Linked DNA regions of Homo sapiens: region 2 is linked to region 1. Evidence: promoter capture Hi-C in 16 types of primary human blood cells and fetal thymus (Javierre and others, 2016). All regions are on one chromosome and are shown on one strand. The core of a region is centred on a gene start or on the middle of the fragment in contact, and the rest is flanking DNA. Distances in the headings are between cores, read along the strand shown.

Region 1 (4,378 bases), core at 978-3,477:
GCCACTGCACTACAGCCTCGTGCCTCAGTGACAGAATTAGACTGTCTCAAAAAAAGAAAAAAAAAAAAAGGAAAAAAGAATTTGCCAGGGAGAACTATTTGCTTAAGGTTATCTGTATCTCAAATAGCAGTCACTCGATAAGATTTACTTACCCGGTACAAGTCATTGTTTGTCAGGGAAAAAGGCAAGTTGGATACATACACTGTGCTCTTACTTGGAGCCAATCCACCACTCATTTCTAAAAGTGAAAACAAACTTATCAGCAATCAGTCTAAACCAGGATTCTTTTTTTGTTGTTTGAGACGGAGTTTCCCTCTTGTTGCCCAGGCTGGGGTGCAATGGCGTGATCTCGGCTCACTGCAACCTCTGCTTCCCAGGTTCAAGCAATTATCCTGCCTCAGCCTCCCGAGTAGCTGGGATTATAGGCATCCACTACCATGCCTGGCTAATTTTGTATTTTTAGTAGAGACAGTGTTTCACCATGTTGGTCAGGCTGGTCTTGAACTCCTGACCTCAAATGATCCACCTGCCTCAGCCTCCCAAAGTGCTGGGATTACAGGCATGAATCACCACACCTGGCCTAAACCAAGTATTATTAATTCCAAATAAAACCAATACATCAGACCAGTCTGGGTATTATTTGGAAAAAAACAAAAAACAAAAACCAATAAAGTATTAACAATCACCGATTTAATTATGCCAGATGTGTACACCTTCCTTACATTTTAGGAAGTTAGGAACAATGACTCCAGCAGGCTGAATTAAGGAATTCCTTTTTCCCAGTCACCACTTAAAAAAAATTCTTTTTTGGTTCTTCTTCTTTCAAGTATTCTTTATACCAACACTTTCAGTGCCAGATTGTATGGGTAGGGAGACGGGTTTTGAACAGATGAAGGAAAAACCCTGAGGCTACTCCTAACTTCCACTCAGACCATGAGCAAAAAAAATGCTCTATTGAATATGTACTGTATATGTACATTACCTGCACCTTGCTCACCCAGGTCAGAAAGAGCATGGGGACTCAGACAGAACCTTAGCCACTGATTTTTGCTAATACACAGTCATGCTATGCTTAATGAAGGAGGTATGTTCTGAGTGTTACGTGATTTCACAGTGCAGACATCACAGGGTGTACTGAGACAAACCTAGATGGTCTAGCCTATTGCTCCTAGGCTACAACCTGTACAGCATGTTAATGTAGTGAATAATGTAGACAGTTGAAACACAATGGTAAATATTTACATAGCTAAACACAGAAAACGTACACTAAAAATATGGTACAATGTATTACACTCTTAGGAGACCACTGTGGTATATGTGGTTTGTTGTTAATCAAAAAGTTGTTATGCTGTGCATGCCTGTACTATGGCTGGGTACCTTTTTTGCTTGTCTTAATATTTTTTTTCTCTGGAGTGGTGTGTTAAGAGGAAAATTTTCTTTTCCCCTTTTAGTATGATGTTAAGGAGTAAATTTAAGCTTTATGTATCGACAATATAAACTTCTTTCGAAACGCTAATTTTGCTTATTGCCAAATTATGAAATGATACATTATATAAATAGGCTTGGTGCCTCGAAGAGACAGACCTGTAGGTATGTGTGTATATGTATATAAAGTTTACAAATGTAATCAGTAATTTTCACATCTTATCTTACAAAGTCAGCAAATTACCGTGAAAATATCAGGCTCAACCAAATTCAAATTTCTGATTTAAAAAGAGCGTGCGGTGTGTATTTGAGATGGGAAGATCAACCATCACAAATGGAAAAATACTGACTCTATGGCATGCCAATTCGTGAAGGAATGAGAAAACTGCCTCATGTTTGGTGTTATGGGGGAATTATTTAGAAAACTTCAGGAACTCAACATAGATACGTCGCTTTTTAAGTTTCTCATTTGAAACTATGCGTTACACGTTCTGCTGAGAGCCGCGAAGGCAGGCAGAGGTTAAGGTCCTGGAATAAAAAGGGTGGCGGGAGAGAGGGGCAGAGCGTTTTGGCAGCCGAGTCTGGGGAGGGGGCCCCGCAGGAGAGAAGGCCGCAGCTGAGGAGGCGTTTACCTTCAGGTGGGTTGGGCCTGGGAGACCAGAAGAGTGCGAGCCCTCGGCTCAGCTGGGGCTCAACCCCGACTCTTCGTAGCCGCTCGCAGCGGCCTTGGCATCACGAGTCCTGGGAGGGGTCAGGCGCGGAGAGCAGATAATAGCAGCCACGGTGCTTCTTCCCGACTGTTTGAGATCCGGGCCCCGAAGGCGGGCCCAGAGGCGAGCGCTTCGCTAACGTCATTGCGCGCGCCGGAAGTACCTACCTGGGATAACGGCGGCGAGCGGACGGCTGCATTTACGGGGTCTCCCGGAGGGCCAGAGTCGGTGAGCGCTTTTTACCTTTCCCAGAGATGGATGCAGAGCGTGTGCGGGCTGCTAAACGGGGGGGAGTGGGCGGGAGTTTTCTGTGTCGGGTCCTGGATTCTCCTGCCTTTGAATTGTGTGACAATTCTGCCCATGCGGTTGAGGGTGGAGAGACGCAGTGGAGTTTGGAATAAAGGGAAGTATTGAGTCTAAGATAGGGGTTCGCCTCTCTGTAGCGCCTTAATATGCAAGAAGACGACTGAGCTAGGTAACTTCAGTGACCCGAGAGGAGTCAGGAAGTCGGTAATTTTACTGAAGGTGTTCACGGTACCCAGCTATTAGGCACTTTGGGAACTACAAAATAAACAGACCTTTTATGTTTTGTTTTGTTTTGTTTTCTGGTGAAGATCTCAGTCTAGTTGGGGAGACGAGGTCAACTTGGGGAGAGTTGGATTCACAGAATGACTCATCTTTAGTATGGGTATGGACAAGTGTTGATCTTCTTGGCACCTTTTCTCTTCCTGTAAATCTATAATGGCTACGCACTGCTTTTTCTCTAAGAGGCCATAACATGCCCACCATTCCTACAGAAAAATCAGAACGTAATGCAAGGTAATTTATACTTCTGCCTACCAGCACATACAGACCAGGCCTCTAACCACTCCCTGGGAGCCTGCGTTCCAGCAGCCTGGAACCCACAGCCTCTCCTGGAGCCTGCACAATCAATCCAGAGTGAAGCCGATGTCTTCTATAGAGACGGAAGTACAATCCATCCAGGGCGCAGCTGAATTTTGAGAGGCCTGAATGCCTCCGTGGCCGACAGGAGACCGCTGGCACTAATTCTCTAGGCATACTTGTGGCCAGCCAAACTTACCATGCTTTACATCTCTGTTATCCTTGGTTACCGCCCAAGATGTAAGCTTCTGTGGTCTTCTGTGCTATAGTCTCATTTCCATGCTGCTTTGTGCTTTCTTTCGACTTAGGCTATCACTGCTTCTTCGTTTCTTCCCCATTTAACCCCTCAACACCCCATCTGTGCTTTCTGAAACCTCTATTTCCTGCTTAAACTATTTTACATATTCAACTTCTTTAGTGAAATTCTCCTTCATCTCCTAACCTTAACTATTGATAACACGTAGATTTTCCTGCCAGCCATTTCAGTTGAGCCCTTTCTCTGACCCTGCATTTAAAGGTTGGGCATGGCTGTAGCCATGTTGAACGGATTTCAATTCCTCAGAATACTTTCTTCCCTCAGTATCTTCACAAAGGCTCTTTTCTCTCTCTGGGACATTTGAGCTCCCTGTTTCCTCCTATCTTTTTCTGGATAACTTCTATTAAAGATCTGAGTTTAGCTGTCACTTTACTTGAGGGGTATACCCTAACTTCCATAGAGTTAGGTATTTTTGCTATGTACTCTTAGCTGTCCTGCACTTCCCTCACGGCATTTATCACATGTATCTTAATTGCTTCTTTGCCATCCCTACTAAGCGAGACTGTCGGTGAGGGACTGTGTTTGTCTCGTTTATCTTTGTAACTCCAGTAGCTAATACAGTTCTTGGCACATAAGACAGTCAGTTATTTCTTGAATGATTGCAGGTGCTGAAGGTATGCTGCAGAGATCAGGCAGTTAACGTTAATGAATACTTCACCCTTAGAAGGGGTCACCTGCCACTCAGCTACAGCTGATTGTGGCTATGTGAGAATATGATCCCAGTTTTGCCAGAACATCTAATTTTTTCAAAAAAAGTTGGAAATACCATTTTTTAAAAAGCATCCTCTCCCAGTTTTTAAATGTTGTCAGTGGAATAGAATTTTATTAAAAAAAAAAAAGTGGGTCAAACACAAGTCTCATATGGCCTATCAGTCACTAGTTTGGAATCTGTTTTAAGTCTTGTAGGGTTTATATAATGGGCTTTGTGGAGAATAATAGGTTTTGAGTTGGGCCTTGATGGACCGTTGGATGTTGAATGAGAGAATGGAAAAAGATATCCCGTTTGGAAAATAAACAGCTCCGTGGTAGTATGTGTTAGTCTGTT
Region 2 (4,378 bases), core at 951-3,450, 2.2 Mb before region 1:
TTTGTGCCAACTTAATATGTTACGGAGAGCTTTGCCCTACCTTTGCTAATTAACAGTACAATAAACAGCAAAAGGAAGGTCACTACTGACAAACTTTGAATATAAAGTGCAGTGAGCTGGGTTTTAGGCTCATGGTTCCCGCATGTGGAGTTGAATATATGGCCTTTGCTTCCCTTCAGAACCCACAGAGAAAGGGTGAAAAGCACAAACATCAAACAAGTGGTGAATACACAGATCAGCAGCAGCCCCAGGTTTAAAGCGCTTTCATCAAGCCCCAGCCATAGGGAAGAAATACTTCAACAGCACCCTAAGGGAAACAAAAAACTGAATTATGAAACGAAACATTAAAAAAGCATCAGCGGTGTGTCTTAGAAAAATTACTAGTGAGATTTAAGTCACAGCCCCCCACTTTCCCTCAAAAGTGCTTTCTAATAATACAGAGCACATTCCAAATAGCTTCCCTCTGCCAAAAACTTGCCAATTGTACCTCCCCTGCTCAGCAACCAGGGTGAAAAAAATTCAACGCCAGGAGAACCTTAATGCCTTCATTTTTGAAGTAAATTCCAAACATTTATCTTGCGGGGCATTTATCCACAGGGGGAGTAGCTCCTAAATGAATTAAGGAAGTGAATATGACCTTTAATAGATAATTTGGTTCCCAACTGGAAAGCAGGAGAGGAAAAACAAAGAGGAGAATGGATAAAAAAGGATTCAAATGAAAAAGTTGGAAAAACAGAGGAGAATGGAATTTACTTGGGAAAAGAATGAAAGCTGAAAGGCAATAGAAAAAGCATAAAAGCAAAAGGAGATGCCATCTAAAGACAAATGCTAGATAAGCAAAGAGGGCAGGGGTCGCTAATAAACCTTTCAGAGTCCAGAATTACTTAACTCTAAATATTATCTCACTGTAACTTGACGATGGTCTAGGTTCCAGGCTGGGAGCCCCAGAAAACGAAAGGGGCTAGCAGTGGAGAGGCAAGGTGGGACAGTGCAGGAAAGCAGAGACCCTCGTAAGCTCAAGAAGCAGCATCAGGTTAGGCTGGATCAAGGAAAGAGCTGGTGCTCAGCTAGGTTTCTGGAAGTGCTGAGAGGCAACAACCACTTGGACTGACTGGTCCGTGGCCTATCAAAGATTCCACGTGCGCTCGAGGGAGACTAGAGTGACACCCCCTCCCCCCCGACCCTCCCACCTCCCGGGAGAGCCTTGGAGGCTGGACCAACAAACAGATGGGCTCTGGAGGCCAGAGAAGTGGAGGATTCTCTGACCCTGGGAGACCAGACGGGGACCCCGATGGGCAAGAGGCACGCAACACCCAGGGTCAAGGGCGGTGACAATGGGATCCCGGGCGCCCTTCACGGAGCCCGAACTCACCGATGCCGAGTCCCACGACCAGGCGGCCGGCGAGCAGTGTCTCCTTGTTGTTGGCCGCAGCCAGCACCGCGGAGCCGGCGGTGAAGAGGGCACTGGCCAGGAGGATGGCAGCGCGGCGGCCGAAGACGCCGTTGAGGGCGCCTCCGGCCAGCGCCGAGACGGCAGCCGCCCCCACCGTGCTGGACACCAGCAGCTCCTGCCACAGCGCGTCCAGACTGAGCTGCCGCTTGAGCAGCAGCATGGCCCCTGACACCACCCCGGTGTCATAGCCAAACAGGAAGCCGCCCAGCGCGGAGAAGACGGCCACCACGTACACGAAGGCGGGGGTCTCGTCCTGCTGGAACTGCCGCCGCGCCGCGCGCTCCAGGTCCCCGACGCCGCCGCCGCCCGCGCCCGCGCTCTGCAGGCTGGTGCTCGATTCGGCGGCAGCCAGGAGGCTGCACTCCCCGGCCGCGCTCGCCGCGTCCGGCTCCGGCTGCTTCCTGCGCCGCTCGCCCATCAGGCTGCTCAGGCTCCGCAGCGTGTACTCCACATTCTCGCTTGCCTTGCGGGACATAGGGCAGGGGCCCGGGGCTGCCCGGGGGGACGCGGCTCCGCGGGCCGGCAGTCTCGGCGAGCTAGACAGCCCGAGCCGGCGGGAGCAACCGCCGCTGCCGCCGCTTTCTTCCTCCCGGCTTCCGCTCCGGCTGCCACGGCAGCAGCCGCCGCCACGGCCGCTCCGGGGAGAAAGTTGCTGCCCGCCGCGCTCCGACGCTGCGGAGTTGGAGCCCGGCGGGTCTCACTCCACACTCACGCCCCGCGCCTGCCGAGCTGGCGCTGCGGAGCGGGCGGGAGGCGGGACCGCGGGTCACGTGCAACCCCGGGCCGGCGGGGCGGGGCCCGGGAAACGTCCCGCCCCCTCCTTGGGCGGGGCCAGGCTCAGCCCGCCCCGGACCCCTAAACCCCGCCCTCCCGGTGGGTGCGACCTCTGACCTAGGCTCCCTCATTTAGGGCTCTGGCAACCGTATGGAATTAACCCTGCCTTCCGAGCTGCAGCGGTGGAGCAAGCCAATGTGGCGATGCCATCAGGCAACAGGCTTCCAGACGGGAAGCCACCCAGAATGTTTGCCGTGTTTGGAGAGGAGGGAGAGAGCACCTAAACCAGCCTCACTGTCCTTCCAGCAGCCTAGAGAGAGGGCTGGAAAAAATATCCTAGAATAGGACCTAGCAAGTACCCTTCCTTTTATAGTATTGTGACATTACCCAGCGTGGTCTACTTCCCTGGCATTAAATGTGTTTGTTCTGGAGCAATTCAGGGCTGCATGCTCCCATTTCTATAGCTAGTTTCCACTCTCATCGCCAGTCCCTCCTCAATTTATGCTTATTTTAAAGGAATGGTACATTTGATTCTTTGAGGACAGAGAACATATCTCTGTGGTGAATCCCAAACCCTCCTTCCATGGATCCCCGACCTGTAAAAGAAAATTCACATATATGCATTCCACTCATGTAACGGGTAATTCCCAGAAATAGAAAGAAAACTCAAGACCCTGATTTGTGATTCGGCAGGCAGTCTCCATTTCCCCGCCCCAACATGCTAACCAAAAGGTAGGATAGCTTCTCTCCTGAGAATCCCCACTGTTGCCCTCCATGAGGCACTGTTTTAACAGCCTCATTTACTTGAAACAAAGCAAAGATAACGTTATTTGCAACCAATTTTTTAAACTGTTGAGTGAATTAACAGTTGTTGGTTCATTTGGGGTTTGTTTCCCCCTTTAATTTAAATGTTTTTAAAATATACAGTTGCGCATCAGGGGCTAAAGATAGTTTGTTTTGTTTTGTTTTGTTTTTGAGACAGATTCTCGCTCTGTCGCCCAGGCTGGAGTGCAGTGGCGCTATCTCGGCACACTGCAGCCTCCGCCTCCCAGGTTCAAGCGATTCTCCTGCCTCAGCCTTCCTAGCAGCTGGGACTGCTAAAGATGTTTTGTGCCTCTAATTTGCTTTCATTCTTCAGGCTGAGGGCAAAAAGTCAAGCATCATATGATTCTATTCCTACAATTCCACTGCTCTTTTATTTCCCTTATTTGAGCAAAAGCTTTCTTAGCCTGGGGCCTATTTTTCATGCAGCTATAACTTTTTTCCTTTCAGACAAAAGGATTTTGTCATTCCTGTTTCAGTAAAAACTTATATTAGAATTTGTCAAAACTGCTTTCGTTTTGATTATCAGTCACGATTATCTCTACAATATAGTACTTTCCTTGCCAGCAACAAGGAAAAATAAACTAATGAAGCCAGACGGCTTAACTATTTAAATGTTATCGTCTGGCTTTAAAGCAAGGCTCTACCGTCATTCCCAGGCATCAGTTAAACAGAGAGAGCCTTTAGATCTGCAGCAATGAACTCTTTAATATTCAGACCTCGGACAATATTGCAGGTGAGAGCGCGCCTTTTCCGCGGCATGCTACGGTATAGTAAAACTGCGCCCCCTGGTGGTGAGCCAATTCCCACGGCTTCTGAAGAGAAGGGCTCCGCAGATGAGAAGCATCTGGTTCTTTGACAGTTCCCTCTTGCTGAGATGAAAATAAACTACTTTTTGTCTCAGCTGGTGCAGTGAACATCTTGGTTCCTGAGCATTCCTTGCTTGAAATTCAGCTTTGGGGTCATAGAACAAGAAACTACTTTAAAAATTCTGTTCCGTATTAGGACAGTTATGTATCTGCGGTCAGGTTACATTTTAAAAGAAATGTGACGTGAAAAAAAAGGCATCGGAGGCCGGGCGCGGTGGCTCACGCCTGTAATCACAGCACTTTGGGAGGCTGAGGCGGGTGGATTACGGGGTCAGGAGTTCAAGACCAGCCTGGCCAACGTGGTGAAACCCTGTCTCTACTAAAAATACAAAAGTTAGCCGGGCATGGCGGCACGCGTCTGTAATCCCAGCAACTCGGGAGGCTGAGGCAGAGTATTGCTTGAACCCAGGAGGCGGAGGTTGCAGTGAGCCGAGATCGTGCCACTGCAATCCAGCCTGGG

The links. The method cuts DNA at HindIII sites, captures the fragments that hold promoters and counts their contacts. A CHiCAGO score of 5 or more calls a contact.
Region 2: the fragment with the promoter of SLC2A13 here is called in contact with the fragment with the promoter of ZCRB1 in region 1 in 4 of 17 cell types (naive CD4 T cells, non-activated CD4 T cells, total CD8 T cells and 1 more); the score reaches 8.4 in naive CD4 T cells.

What each region holds. Positions count from the first base shown.
Region 1 is chr12:42,323,867-42,328,244 of GRCh38, forward strand. It overlaps ZCRB1 (zinc finger CCHC-type and RNA binding motif containing 1), which reads right to left and starts at 2,228. Exons shown (of 8, transcript NM_033114.4): 1 at 2,058-2,228; 2 at 153-238. The coding sequence starts at 236. PPHLN1 (periphilin 1) reads left to right here and starts at 2,301. Exons shown (of 10, transcript NM_201439.2): 1 at 2,301-2,363. RefSeq lists an enhancer at 1,924-1,973. The HindIII fragment of the contact is 1,786 bases long and covers 1,475-3,260 here.
Region 2 is chr12:40,103,881-40,108,258 of GRCh38, forward strand. SLC2A13 (solute carrier family 2 member 13) reads right to left here and starts at 2,201. Exons shown (of 10, transcript NM_052885.4): 1 at 1,373-2,201. The coding sequence starts at 1,928. RefSeq lists silencers at 1,635-1,724, 1,735-1,804, 1,825-2,084, 2,105-2,354, 3,736-3,865 and an enhancer at 3,355-3,524. The HindIII fragment of the contact is 3,714 bases long and covers 1-3,444 here.